Linked DNA regions of Homo sapiens: regions 2 and 3 are each linked to region 1. Evidence: promoter capture Hi-C in 16 types of primary human blood cells and fetal thymus (Javierre and others, 2016). All regions are on one chromosome and are shown on one strand. The core of a region is centred on a gene start or on the middle of the fragment in contact, and the rest is flanking DNA. Distances in the headings are between cores, read along the strand shown.

Region 1 (3,963 bases), core at 868-3,367:
GGTAAAACCCTGTCTCTACTAAAAATTCAAAAATTAGCCAGGCATGGTGGTGGATGCATGTAATCCCAGCTACTCGGGAGGCTGAGGCAGGAGAATCACTTGAACCTGGGAGGTGGAAGTTGTAGTGAGCCAAGATCGTGCCACTGCACTCCAGCCTGGGCAAAAGAGCGAGACTCTGTCTCAAAAAAAAAAAAAAAAAAAAAAAAAGGAATATTCTCTTAATTTCTAGGACAGCTAAAATTTAGTTAAAATTTGAGAACCGCTGGGTCACGAGGTCAGGAGATCGAGACCATCCTGGCTAACATGGTGAAACCCCGTCTCTACTAAAAATACAAAAAAAGAAAAAAATTAGTCGGGTGTGATGGCGGGCGCCTGTAGTCCCAGCTACTCGGGAGGCTGAGGCAGGAGAATGGCGTGAACCCTAAAGAAATGTAAACAAGGAGATAATGGAAAGCTAGACTGCTGGTATCTTTCTTTAGCTGTGGGCACAGAAGCCCAAGAGGGACACCTAGGCACCTGAAATGAGAATTCCTGGGGTGATGCCAGCCTCCCTGTGTGGGCCTCAGGTATGGCAGCCACAGGGCATCCACCCTGACCCAATGACGCTGCACAAGACTGATGAGCTCACATCAGACAGATTGACCCTGTCCACCTGTTCCTGGTTCATAAATCCTTCTCTCTCTCCCTACCCCCACTCCCAGATACTGGTTAAGATCTGCCTTTCCCCTAGCCCCTTACCCTGCCACTGTTCTCCTGAACTGTGCCCCAGTTCCACCTTCCCCAGTGGTTCTCACAGCTGGCTAGCTCTGACTCCTAAGGTCCTACGGGCCTTCTGGACAAGAAAACTCTGTCTACATACTGGGGTAGGGGAACCACAGACGGGGTGAAGAGGGAGCAGCAAATAATCTGTGCTGACTTTTTCCCAAAATGAAAACATTTTCAGCAGCTGTTTTCCAAATACTTAAGATGTTCAATCTTGGTTGTAGATAAATGTACCACTTTTCTCTGCCCTAGGCACGTTATTGAAAGCGTTATTAAAGGGTGTAACTTACAAGTCAACGGTGTCAAATGCTACCAGCTCTTACTTAAAGCATACTGCAGGCTCAGCCCACCTACACCCTGGAGGAACCAAAGTTGGTCCGCGGAACGTGCAGAGGAGCAGCTTGCAACTACCCACTCTCCTTTCCGCAGGTGTGATGCAAACCTCCCCAGGCAGCGCTTTGGAGCCCCTCAGCCAGTCGCCTCAGCTCGGACGCAGCGAGTGAAGCTGTCCTTCCTCTCCCACCAACTGTGCACGCCCCGCACCTCACCTATTCGCCTCGCCAGCCCTGCCCCGATCAACGATGGCATCCCCCGGCAGCCTGCCTATTCCCCCCCTCAACCTGGACCCCCAAACGCCGAAGGAAAACGGTCCCACAAATACAAAGAAAAACCCAAGCCAAAGGGCAGGCGACGGGGAGTGGTGAGAAAGGAACAAGATGCACGAAGAGGGAGAGCACCCAGAGGGGAAATAACCCAATGTTCCCACTGCAAGGGCCTCTCCTGACCCCATTTTTCTCCTTCCGGAGCGCTCCGCAGAGCACCAACTGGGAAAGCGAGGGCGCCCCAAACCAGAGCCGGAGGCACCCTCTAACCCGCGCAACTTGGAATCCCCTCCCGGAAAGCCAACTTAGGAAATGTTTACACGCACCTCGTCTCAACACCTCGTTACAGATGGGGAAGTGGATCCAAGCGCAAAGGGCGGCCGGAGCGGAACGCACAAGCGACCGAGCTGCCTGGAAGGACGCGCGCCCCGCCCGGCCCGCCCCCGACGGGAAGGCCGGTCCACTGCCTGCGTTCCGCCGGCCGCGAGCCTGCTGGGGGGCACTTCGGGGCTCAGGCTCCCCGCCCTGCGGGACCGCGGGTGGCTGCGACCCCAGCCCGGTTCCCCGCCAGCCTGTCCCCTAGCAATGCCTCCCCGTACCCGGGTCCCGCAGACTTACGCGCAAGCCGCGCGTAGGGCCCAGAAGCAGCAGAACCAGCAACAGAGGGAGGATGCGAACCAGGAACCCCGGCATGACCACCAGCCTCCCGGCTCTGCAGTCGGCGCCCAGGCCGGCCGCTTCGCGTCACTTGACTAAGGACCCACGGCCTGGCACCGCCCCTCGTCGGCCCAGCAGCCAGCCCTCGCGCCTGCTCAGCCCCGCGCCCCGCCCCGCTGTGGCCGAGCCGGGCGGGTGGGGGCGGCTAGGAGGCTGCGCGCCGCCGCGTGACTCCAGGATAGTACTATCTGGGTTTTGCAGGCGTCTTCCCTGGGAAGGGACCCTTTGGAACTGCAGTCCGGAGGGCCTGCTTTCAGCAGCTTGATAACGCGCCTCGGGGATTGGACATGAATCATGGTCTCCCTGTTCCCTGGCTGCCTTGAGAGAGCAGAAGAGGGAAATTGTTAATCATTAAACCTAAACGCCCTAGATGGAATCCGCGTCTCATATACGGGCTCTTTGAATAACTCTAAGCCGGGGGTTAGCAAAATGTGGTCGGTCCCTGGAGCCACTGTATCAACTCACCTGGAACTTGTTAGAATGAAAATCCTGCTCACGCCTGTAATCCCAGCACTTTGGGAGGCCGAGGCGGGCGGATCGCCTGAGGTCAGGAGTTCCAGACCAGCCTGACCAGTATGATGAAACCCCGTCTCTACTAAAAATACAAAAATTAGCCGGGCGTGGTGGCAGGCGCCTGTAATCCCAGCTACTGAGGAGGCTGAGACAGGAGAATCGCTTGAACCCGGGAGGTGGAGGTTGCAGTAAACCGAGATCGAGCCATTGCGCTCCAGCCTGGGCAATAAGAGCGAAATTCCGTATCAAAAAAAAATTTTCTTTTTTAAAATAACCTTAGTTTATGCCTTGGTGTTCCAAAAAGCCTTTTTACATTGTATAACAAAGTAGCCAAAATTCTATTTGTTCACTCCTTTCTCCTTTCCTACCGGACATGTCCTTGAGAGATTGAGAAAGTATCAGAAAGGACATTTCATTGAGAGATTGAGAAAGTATCAGTTACTGGCTTTTCTTAGGTTTTTGTTTTTTGGTTTGGGGGGTTGTTTTTTTGTTTTGTTTTTGTGTTTTTTGAGACAGGGTCTCACTCTGTCACCCAGGCTGGAGTGGGGCGCAATCACGGCTTACTGCAGCTTTGGCCTCCTGGGCTCAAGCAATTCTCCCGTCTCAGCCTACCAAGTGGCTGGGACTACAGGCGTGCGCCACCACACCCGGCTAATTTTTGTATTTTTTGTAGAGACAGGGTCTCACCACGTTTCCCAGGCAGGTCTTGAAGTTCTGGGATCAAGCAATCTACCTGCCTGGAACTCCCAAAATGCTGGAATTACAGACATGAGCCACCGTGCCTGGCTTCTTTTCATGCCTGTAGTACCAATTCCGTGTCCTTGCACTGTGAAGTCCTTTCCAAGCTCTGCAATTCTAGTTCAGTATTAAAGAACAAGGGCTCTGGAGGAAGTACACTTGAGTTGGAATTCCAGCTCTGCCACTTACTGTCTGTGTAACTGTGGGCAAATTACTTAACCTCTCTGAGCTTAGTTTCTTTGTTGGTAAAGCAGGGCTAATAATATCAAATTCACTGGATAATTGGGGAAATTACCAGAGATGATGACGATAAGAAGCTTGGTATATACAGGATGTTAGTGGGACAGTTGATGAAATCAGAATTAGACTTGTAGGTTAGATTAGTACCATGCATCAATGTTAATTTCCTTTTTGGGGGGGTGGGGGGACAGAGTCTCACTCTGTCACCCAGGCTGGAGTGCAGTGGCACAATCTCGGCTCACTGCAACCTCCGCCTCCCAGGTTCAAGTGATTCTCCCACCTCAGCCTCCAAAGTAGCTGGGATTACAGGCACCCACCACTAGGCTTGGCTAATTTTTGTATTTTTAGTAGAGATGGGGTATCACCATGTTAGCCAGGCTGGTCTGGAGCT
Region 2 (4,114 bases), core at 525-3,024, 690 kb after region 1:
TATTTTTCTCCCCTATTCTTAGGAGCCAATATCTCTGCAACAATGCTTCCTTCTTCTCACCTTTCAAAGCAAGACTTTATTCATTCTCTGAACAACCCACCCCTTCCAAATAGATCAGACTATACCCCTAGCGGTATATTTCTCAAAATTTGGAGCCTGTTCTGAGTAATATGCTTTTCAAGCGAATTTTACCCTTAGTACTAGTGACATTTAGGGCTGGATAATATTTTTGCTATGAGAGACTGTCCTGTGCATTGTAGAATGTTTAGAAGCATCTCTAGCTTCTATCCACTAGAGGCTAGTAGCATCCTCTCCCACCAAGTTGTGACAACCAAAAATGACCACTGGAGAGCAAAATTACCCATTTAATAACAAGTAAGCTAGAATAATACTCTGGGGGAGACTGTGCTGGGTGAGAGTAGAGGAGTTCTCTTATATTCCAAGTTAGGGTGGAGAACGTGGGGAACTTTATCCAGGTTTCACCAAAAAGTAAAGGACAGGTGAAGGAACTCACTTCTCTTGTGAGTCATCAATGAACTTCTTTGCTCTCCTGACTGTGCTGCAGGGGACTGCTGAATCACCATCTCCCAAGGACAAATATTAATTTTCATAGAGTACAGCCTAACCACAAGGTAGAAGATACATATTTTCCCATCTGTCCTTCTGTCCTGTAATTTTACAAGGCCATCTCTCTCTTTCTCTCTTTTTTATGAGACGGAGTCTCGCTTTGTCACCCAGGCAGTAGTGCACAATCTCAGCTCACTGCAACCTCTGCCTCCCGGGTTCAAGTGATTCTCCTGCCCCAGCCTCCTCGGTAGCTGGGATTACAGGCGCCTGCCATCACGCCCGGCTAATTTTTTTGTATTTTTATTAGAATTGGGTTTTCACCATGTTGGCCAGGCTGGTTTCAAACTCCTGACTTCAAGAGATCTGCCCTCCTCGGCCTCCCAAAGTGTTGGGATTACAGGTGTGAGCCACCACGCCTGGCCATGGCCACATCTCTTATAATGAGGTATGACAAATTATTATTCAGCACAGACTTAATCCACCTATCTTGCTTCCAAATGTATCTTCTTTGGATCATCCCTGAGTAACACTTTTTAAAATTCCCTTAGCTACTCACAGAGTTGGCCAAAGATAAGAAATTATTACTTGGAAATGTAATCCCATAGTTTCTTTTTTATGATGGTGGTTGCTGTGTTACTTGGTACACAGATATTTTGGGTTAGCTGATACAAAAGTTTGATATTTCAAACTCTTATCTTTATTGTGGCTTTTAGCTACATTTTTTTTTCTGGATAATTTTAGCCTTTAGCATTATGAAATGTCCTTAATTACATTTAAGCCTTTTTGGTCTGAATTGTCTGATATCAAAAGAACGACCCTGCACTCCTATTGTTTCCATTTGTCTGGTGTTTTAGTTAGTTCAAGCTGTTATAGATTGGGTGGCTTCAACAACATTTATTTCTTACGGTTATGGAGGATGTGAAGTCTAAGAGCAGGGTACCAGCATGATTGGGTTTTGGTGAGTGCCCTCTTACTGCTTTGCATATAGACACCTTTTTACTGTATCCTCACATAGCAGAGTGAGAGAGGAAGCAAGTGCTGTTGCGTCTCTTCTTAGAAGGGCACTAATCCTATTCATGAGGGCTCTGTGCTCACAATCTAATTACCTTCCAAAGGTCCCACCTCCAAATACCATCGCATTTGGAACTGAATTTCAAGAAGTGACTGTTGGGGGTACACATTCAGTCCACAGCACCTAGTATGTCTGTCTATTCCTTTCTATTTAGCCTTTCTGAATCATTTTGTTTTAGGTATGTTGCTTGCATGTACCATAATGATAGTGTATCAGTTAGCTTCTGTTGCATAACAAACCATGCCAAAACTTAAAAACCAGCCATTTATTTAGCTCATAATTCTGTAGGTTGGCTTAACAGTTCTGGTCTAGATTGGCTCAGTTGATCTCTCAGGTGCTTGCTTCTGTGTCTGAGGTCATCTAGGGTGTTGCCTGGTTGTTGGATGATCTAAGATAGCCTTGTTCATATGTCTGACAATTAGCAGACTGTTGGTTAGGGCTAGGAGAGTGACTCAACCACGTCTCTCATAATCCAGCAGGCAAGACGGTACACATGGAGGTCACGGGGTTGCAAGTGCAGTAAGAGAGGACAAACCCTGATGACTGAAGTGTCTGCTTGCATCACAACTGCTAATGCCCCATTGGCCAAAGCAGCTCACATCAACGACCTAGACTTAAAGGGTGCAGAAAAAGACTCCACTTCCTGGTGGGAAGATCTGCAATGTCACACTGCAAAATCATGATAAAGGGAGAGGAAGAGTTTGTGGCCAATTTTATAATCTATCACATTGGGTTTTCTTTTGTGAGTCATTTTAAAAGTCTTTTTCTTTACTTCCTTTTTTCTTTACCTCCTTCTGCTATTCGATTTTTTAACTTTAAGTGACATTCATTGATATCATTTAAATATCTTTTGACTCCCATCAATTGCCTATTTACCAATAAATTTACTTATTTTACTTTTCCTTTCTGATGACTGCAACTTACTATGAAATGGATCCAAAAAGCAAGGTAGATTTATGGGTGGATAGAGGGAAGATTAGATGGACAAATGTGAGATAAAGCATGCATAGTAAAATGTTAATGTTAGAATCTAGGTGGTGGGTAGGTGAGTGTTTATTGCAAAACTCTATGCTGTGGCTGAAATTTTAAAAATGAATTGTGAAGTTGAGGCAGGAGAATCCCTGGAGTCCAGGAGTTTGAGACCAGCCTCGGCAACATAGGGATATTCCGTCTTTACAAAAAATAAACAAATAAATTAGCCGGGCATGGTAGTGTGCACCTGTAGTCCTAGCTACTTGGGAGGCTGAGGTAGGATAATTGCTTGAGCCTGGGCCTGGAAGGTTGAGGGTGTAGTGAGCCATGACTGCACCACTGCACTCCAGCCTGGGCAAAAGAGCCAGACCCTGTCTCAAAAAAACAAAACAAAAAAACAAAGAAAAGAAGAGAAAAGAAAAGAAAAGAAAATATTGGAAGAAAAAGAACACAGGAGCCAGCTTGAGGGTGTTCATATCAGTCAAATCTTGGACAATCTGAGCGTCAAAATAAATAATAATAACAGATTATAATCTACCAAATTAAATAAAAATCTATGGGTCCATGCTGGTATAAACATATAAATGAATAAATAAGGGAGAAAAGAAAATTCTTCTTTCTAGAATAATGTCAGCTAATAGATATAGGCAGAATAATGGATAAGAAAATTACCATTTTGCAATCATCACAGAAATATTAGATTCATGGAAGAATCATCGAAGTATGCTAAAACTAGTGGAAGAAAGTTTAATGTGGAACAGTATGTTTAATAGCCTCGAATTATATTCCCACAAATTAGTTGTTAATTACAAAGGGAAAAGAATAATTTTTCCAACGAGAACCCTGGTGGTTTTTATTCTATCTAATCCCTTCAACCTTTTTTTTCCCTCTATTGGATCTTCCTCCTGCGCCCCTCCACCCTCTCCTTATTCTGGGCTAGTTGTACTTTCTGCTTGCTGCAGAGCTGCCATTTTAGGACTTTCCTTAACTGCTTTCCTAGACCTCCTCCTATGAACTGTTTGCTGAACTACCTTATATAAGGGTGGATTAAAGACCTCTGTAAATATATACAATAGATTAATAGATTGGTCATAGAATTCTCTTGAACTACATTTTGTTTGGCACACAGTATAAGCTCAAAAAATATCTGCTGAATAACTTAGTCTGGTCATCCAAGTATTACCAAAACTTTGTACCATGAAGCTTGTAGGATTTGGTTTTCATTTAATGTATGGTTATAAATATTAAATAAGTGAAGACAAATGAAATTACATACATTTTGTATATATGCTTACTTTTTCTTTTTAAAAATTTATTTATCTTATTACAGTGTTCCACACGTTCAGAGAAACTTCTCTATTAACGAACTACAGACATGATATCTGAAAGTAATCTTTATGCATAGTTTTCTTCTAAGAAACTCAAATGTGTTTTATATGAAGAACCACTAATAACCATTTACTTACTACTCTCTGCTACTAAGTCTTGAACAGAGAGCTAATG
Region 3 (4,064 bases), core at 672-3,171, 710 kb after region 1:
ATGGCACCTGGGCAGCCGTGTGCCACAATTTTGGGATGGCCCAACCTAGGCAAAAAAGGTACAGGGCAGGGCAGGGGTTTTTCCTCTTGTTATATAAGTAGTTACATACTTATTATATGCTTGATTTAGCCTTTTTCCCAGCAGAGTCTAGAATATCACTGTTCAGAAAAAGTTTGCCAGTCCTGGCTTTATAGCCATATTGGCCTCCTTGCTGTGCCAAGCACACCTTTAGGCGTTGTTGCCTCAGACCTTTAGCACTTGCTGTTCCCTTCTTATGGGCTTGTTCTTTGATAGCTCCTGTTCATTCACAAACCAGAATTTTAGGTTTTATTTTTCAGAGATAGAAGAAAACTTTGCATTTTACCGATTCATTTGCTTGGGGCTAGCAACAAAACAGAGAGCAAATAGATCTAGTCTTTGCTTTCATGGAATTTAGAATCCTTTGAGAGAAAAGACAATAAACATAATCCCACCAATAATATATCACAAATTGTGTTAAATCCTATGAAGAAAATGTTCAGGGACCTGAGAGATTATAAATGGAGGGGCAACTAATTTTAAAAAGGGGTTACATTGACTGTATTTTTTTGAGACAAGATTTCACGCCATGGCCCATCCTGGAGTACAGTGGTGGGATCACAGCTCACTTCAGCCTTGACCTCCTGGGCTCAAGTGATCCTCCCACCTTATCCCGCTGCATAGTCCCTTTGGGGGACTGTAGGCCCACCACCACACCTGGCTGACGTGTGTATGTATGTGTAAAGATGAGGTCTCACTATGTGCCCAGGGTGGTCTCAAACCCCTAGGCTCAGGTGATCCTCCTACCTCAGCCTCCCAAAGTGTTGGGATTACAGGCATGAGCCACAGCGCCTGGCCTAGATTAACTTTATCACTTCTGCTGCCACCGTGGACTCCATTGATCCGTGCTAGCATCATCTCTTGACTGGATTACTACGGTAGCTTCCTAACTGATCTCTCTACTTCTGCTCGTGCACACCTGCAGTCAGTTTTCTACACAACAGTCATGGTGACTGTATGAAAATAAGTCATATTGCTGTTTTGTCCAAACCTTTTGATGATTCACACTCTTACACTATATAGTAAAACTCAGAAGTCTTACAGTTGCACTCAAGGCATCATTACTTCTTTGACTTCATCACTTACTATTTTCTCCCTTGCTCACTCTATGATCATATTGGTCTCCTTGCCATGCCAGATACATTCTTAAGTACCCTCTTGTCCCAGGGTATTGGCACTTGATTTTCCCTAGATTGGAAATTCTCAGATATCTGCTTGGCTCACCTCATCACCTTTTTCATGCCTTTTATGGTCATGCTGTTTTAGAGTTAAAACTTTTTTTCATGTAGTCAAATGACCATGTTATTTAAAACGACAACCTTCTTACCTCTCCTCATATATTCACTTTATTCCTCTTGTCTCTTTATTCTCCATGGCACTTACCACTGTCTTCTATATAATATTTTTGCTTTTTTGTCTTCCCCTCTAAAAGCTTCACAAGAGCACAGATTTTTAGATGTTTACTGCTAAATTCTTAATGTCCTAAAACTGGTGCATAGTAAGCTCTTAGTATATATTTGTTGAATGAATGAATGAGGAAAACTTTCTTTGATAACAATGTCAGCCTAGACAATAGTGAGAAATGGTGGTAAAAAGAGTGAAGGCCCTGAGCAAGGAGAGCCTATAATTTAGTGACTCGAATGTATAGTGAATATCCTGAGATGAGGCTGGAGAGTTGGATGATAGCCATATCCTGTAAGACCTTCAACATTTTTGGATGTAATTTTAAGTGTAATGGGAATCCACCAAAGGGTTTCAGTACTTAATACTTCAGAGTTTATTTCCTGAGTACAAAGATATTCTCCTGTATAACCATAGTACAACTTTCAAAGTCAGGAAGTTGGCATTGATTCATTATTACCATTTAATCTGTAGAATTCATTCAAATATTGCTGATTTTCCTAATATTATTTACAGGTTCAGGATCTAATCTAGAATCATGCAGTGCATTTAATTGTTACGTCTCTTTAATCTCCTTCAATCTGGACCAGTTCTTCAGTTTTTCTCGTCTTTCATGACCTTGACATTTTTGAAGAGTACAGGCTAATTACTTTTTAGAATTTTCCTCAATAAAGGCTTGTCTCATTTTCTTGTGATTTCTGCATTTTTGCATAGGAGTACCAGCGAAGTGATGCTGTGTTCTTTCTAGTGCATATCAGGAAAAATAAGATGTGGATTTGTTCTGTAGTGGTAATGTTTATTTTTATCGCTTGGTTAAGATGGTGTTTGCCAGGTTTCTTGACCTTACAGTTAATAAGCTTGTTGTACTAATTAGTAAATATTTTGTGGGGAGATACTTTGGGACTATGTAATATCCTGTTTCATTACACACTTTTCATTATTTTATCATTTATTGATGAATCTTACCAGAATTAGATATTATACTCTGAAAGGTACCAAATGGTAATTTTTCTAATTTCATCTAGACTATGGTACCGTAGGATAGAGTTTTCCCTATTCACCTGTTTATTTACCTCCGAATGGTGGTCTTTTCCTCAATGGGCTCTTATTTTTTACTGTTATTTTATTTAGATTGGTTCAGTGCTTAGCCATTGGGAGCCCCTTAAAGCTACCTCCTGTGCCCTTTTGACATGTCCTCATCATTTTTTGAGTACTTCCTTAACTTTCTGGCATAGCAAGATGTTTTAGACTTGAATATTGAATTTTTTCAGTCTCAGCCCTTGAGTCAGCCATTTCTCTAAGGAGCACTTGGCTCATTTTAATGCAAAAGATTATCTGGGCAGTAGGTGTGCTTATTGCTACTGTGAAGTGTTACTGCTTATAGGCCCTCTTAGCATATACATTTAGGAAATACATAGTTACACATTTATACTTGTTTTTATTTCTCTCTGCTACCTTTAAAAAATGAGTTAAAAACTAGCTGGGTGTGGTGACATGCACCTGTAGTCCTGGCAGCTCAGGGGCTAAAGTGGGCAGATTGCTTGAGCCTGGGAGTTCAAGGTTACCGTGTACTGTGATTGTGCTACTGTACTGCAGCCTGGGCAACAGAATGATACCCTGTCTGTAAACAAACAAAAAAAGTTCACATTGATATCTCCAGTTCCAGTTTAAAACTGTGGAGTTATTCTAACCTTCTGCCTTCTCATGTTTGTGGATTTTTTTTTTTTTTTTTGAGACAGGTTCTTGCCCAGGCTGGAGTACAGTGGCGCTGTCTTGGCCCACTGCAGCCATGACCTCCAGATCAAGTGATCCTCCCACCTCAGCCTCATGAGTAGCTGGGACCACAGGTGTGCGCCACCATGCCTGGCTAATGTTTGTATTTTTAGTAGAGACAGGGTTTTGCTGTGTTTCCTAGGCTGGTCTCGAACTCTGGGCTCAAGTGATCCACCTGCCTCAGCCTCCCAGAGTGCTAGGATTACAGGCGTGATCTGCTGTGCCTGGCCCTTTCAGGTATTTGTATCTCTGACCTTGGGAAACTTGGCTTCCATTATCTTCAATGTATTTACTTAATTGGATAGTTTTTCCTGTTTATAACCAAACTCATAGCCATGCCAGCCAAAAGCTTGGTCTCAGATATGTTGCCCACTCCTGCTGAAAATTTGCCCCCAGAAATAATCATTACAAAAATACCCCTGATGAAGGGGTGGGGGAAGTATAAGGGAAAAAGGAAAGGAGGAAAGATTAGAGGCCAGTTAGAAAGCTTGGCCTGACCCTTTTCTCCTCCTTTCCCTGCCAGACTTGCTGACTGACAGCTCACCCTGATGGGGGGAAGTCTGCTTTATATTTTGTGATCATTCTGGCTGCTATGCAGAAAACAGGTCGGAAAGAATGAGAAAGGAGATGGAGAGGTTGTCTAGGAAACTTTTGGATTTCTAGCTGAAAGACAGTGGTAGCTTTGATGTGCTGTGTGGCAGTGCTGGAGACAGATAGAGATGGGCTTACCCAAAACATTTAAAAGTCGGTAAACCTGTTTTTAATTGGCAGTTTACCAGAGATACTAATTTGTCTAATGGATACAAACTTAT

What was found. Contacts are between HindIII fragments. The CHiCAGO score rates a contact against its expected background, and 5 or more counts as called.
Region 2: a contact is called between a fragment that was not itself captured here and the fragment with the promoter of GLB1 in region 1, in 3 of 17 cell types (total B cells, erythroblasts and naive B cells). The highest score is 8.1, in total B cells.
Region 3: a contact is called between a fragment that was not itself captured here and the fragment with the promoter of GLB1 in region 1, in 1 of 17 cell types (total CD4 T cells). The highest score is 5.2, in total CD4 T cells.

Annotation. Positions count from the first base shown.
Region 1 is chr3:33,095,029-33,098,991 of GRCh38, forward strand. GLB1 (galactosidase beta 1) reads right to left here and starts at 2,118. Exons shown (of 16, transcript NM_000404.4): 1 at 1,983-2,118. The coding sequence starts at 2,057. It overlaps TMPPE (transmembrane protein with metallophosphoesterase domain), which reads right to left and starts at 2,118. Exons shown (of 2, transcript NM_001039770.3): 1 at 1,691-2,118. RefSeq lists a silencer at 1,706-2,315. The HindIII fragment of the contact is 8,101 bases long and covers 1-3,647 here.
Region 2 is chr3:33,789,756-33,793,869 of GRCh38, forward strand. It overlaps PDCD6IP-DT (PDCD6IP divergent transcript), which reads right to left. Exons shown (of 2, transcript NR_183731.1): 2 at 3,889-4,114. Among named protein-coding and RNA genes, the nearest start is that of PDCD6IP-DT, 6.7 kb to the right of the region's middle. RefSeq lists an enhancer at 1-391. The HindIII fragment of the contact is 4,076 bases long and covers 1-3,812 here.
Region 3 is chr3:33,807,703-33,811,766 of GRCh38, forward strand. The region is part of intron 1 of PDCD6IP (programmed cell death 6 interacting protein); the gene reads left to right. Among named protein-coding and RNA genes, the nearest start is that of PDCD6IP, 11 kb to the left of the region's middle. The HindIII fragment of the contact is 826 bases long and covers 1,509-2,334 here.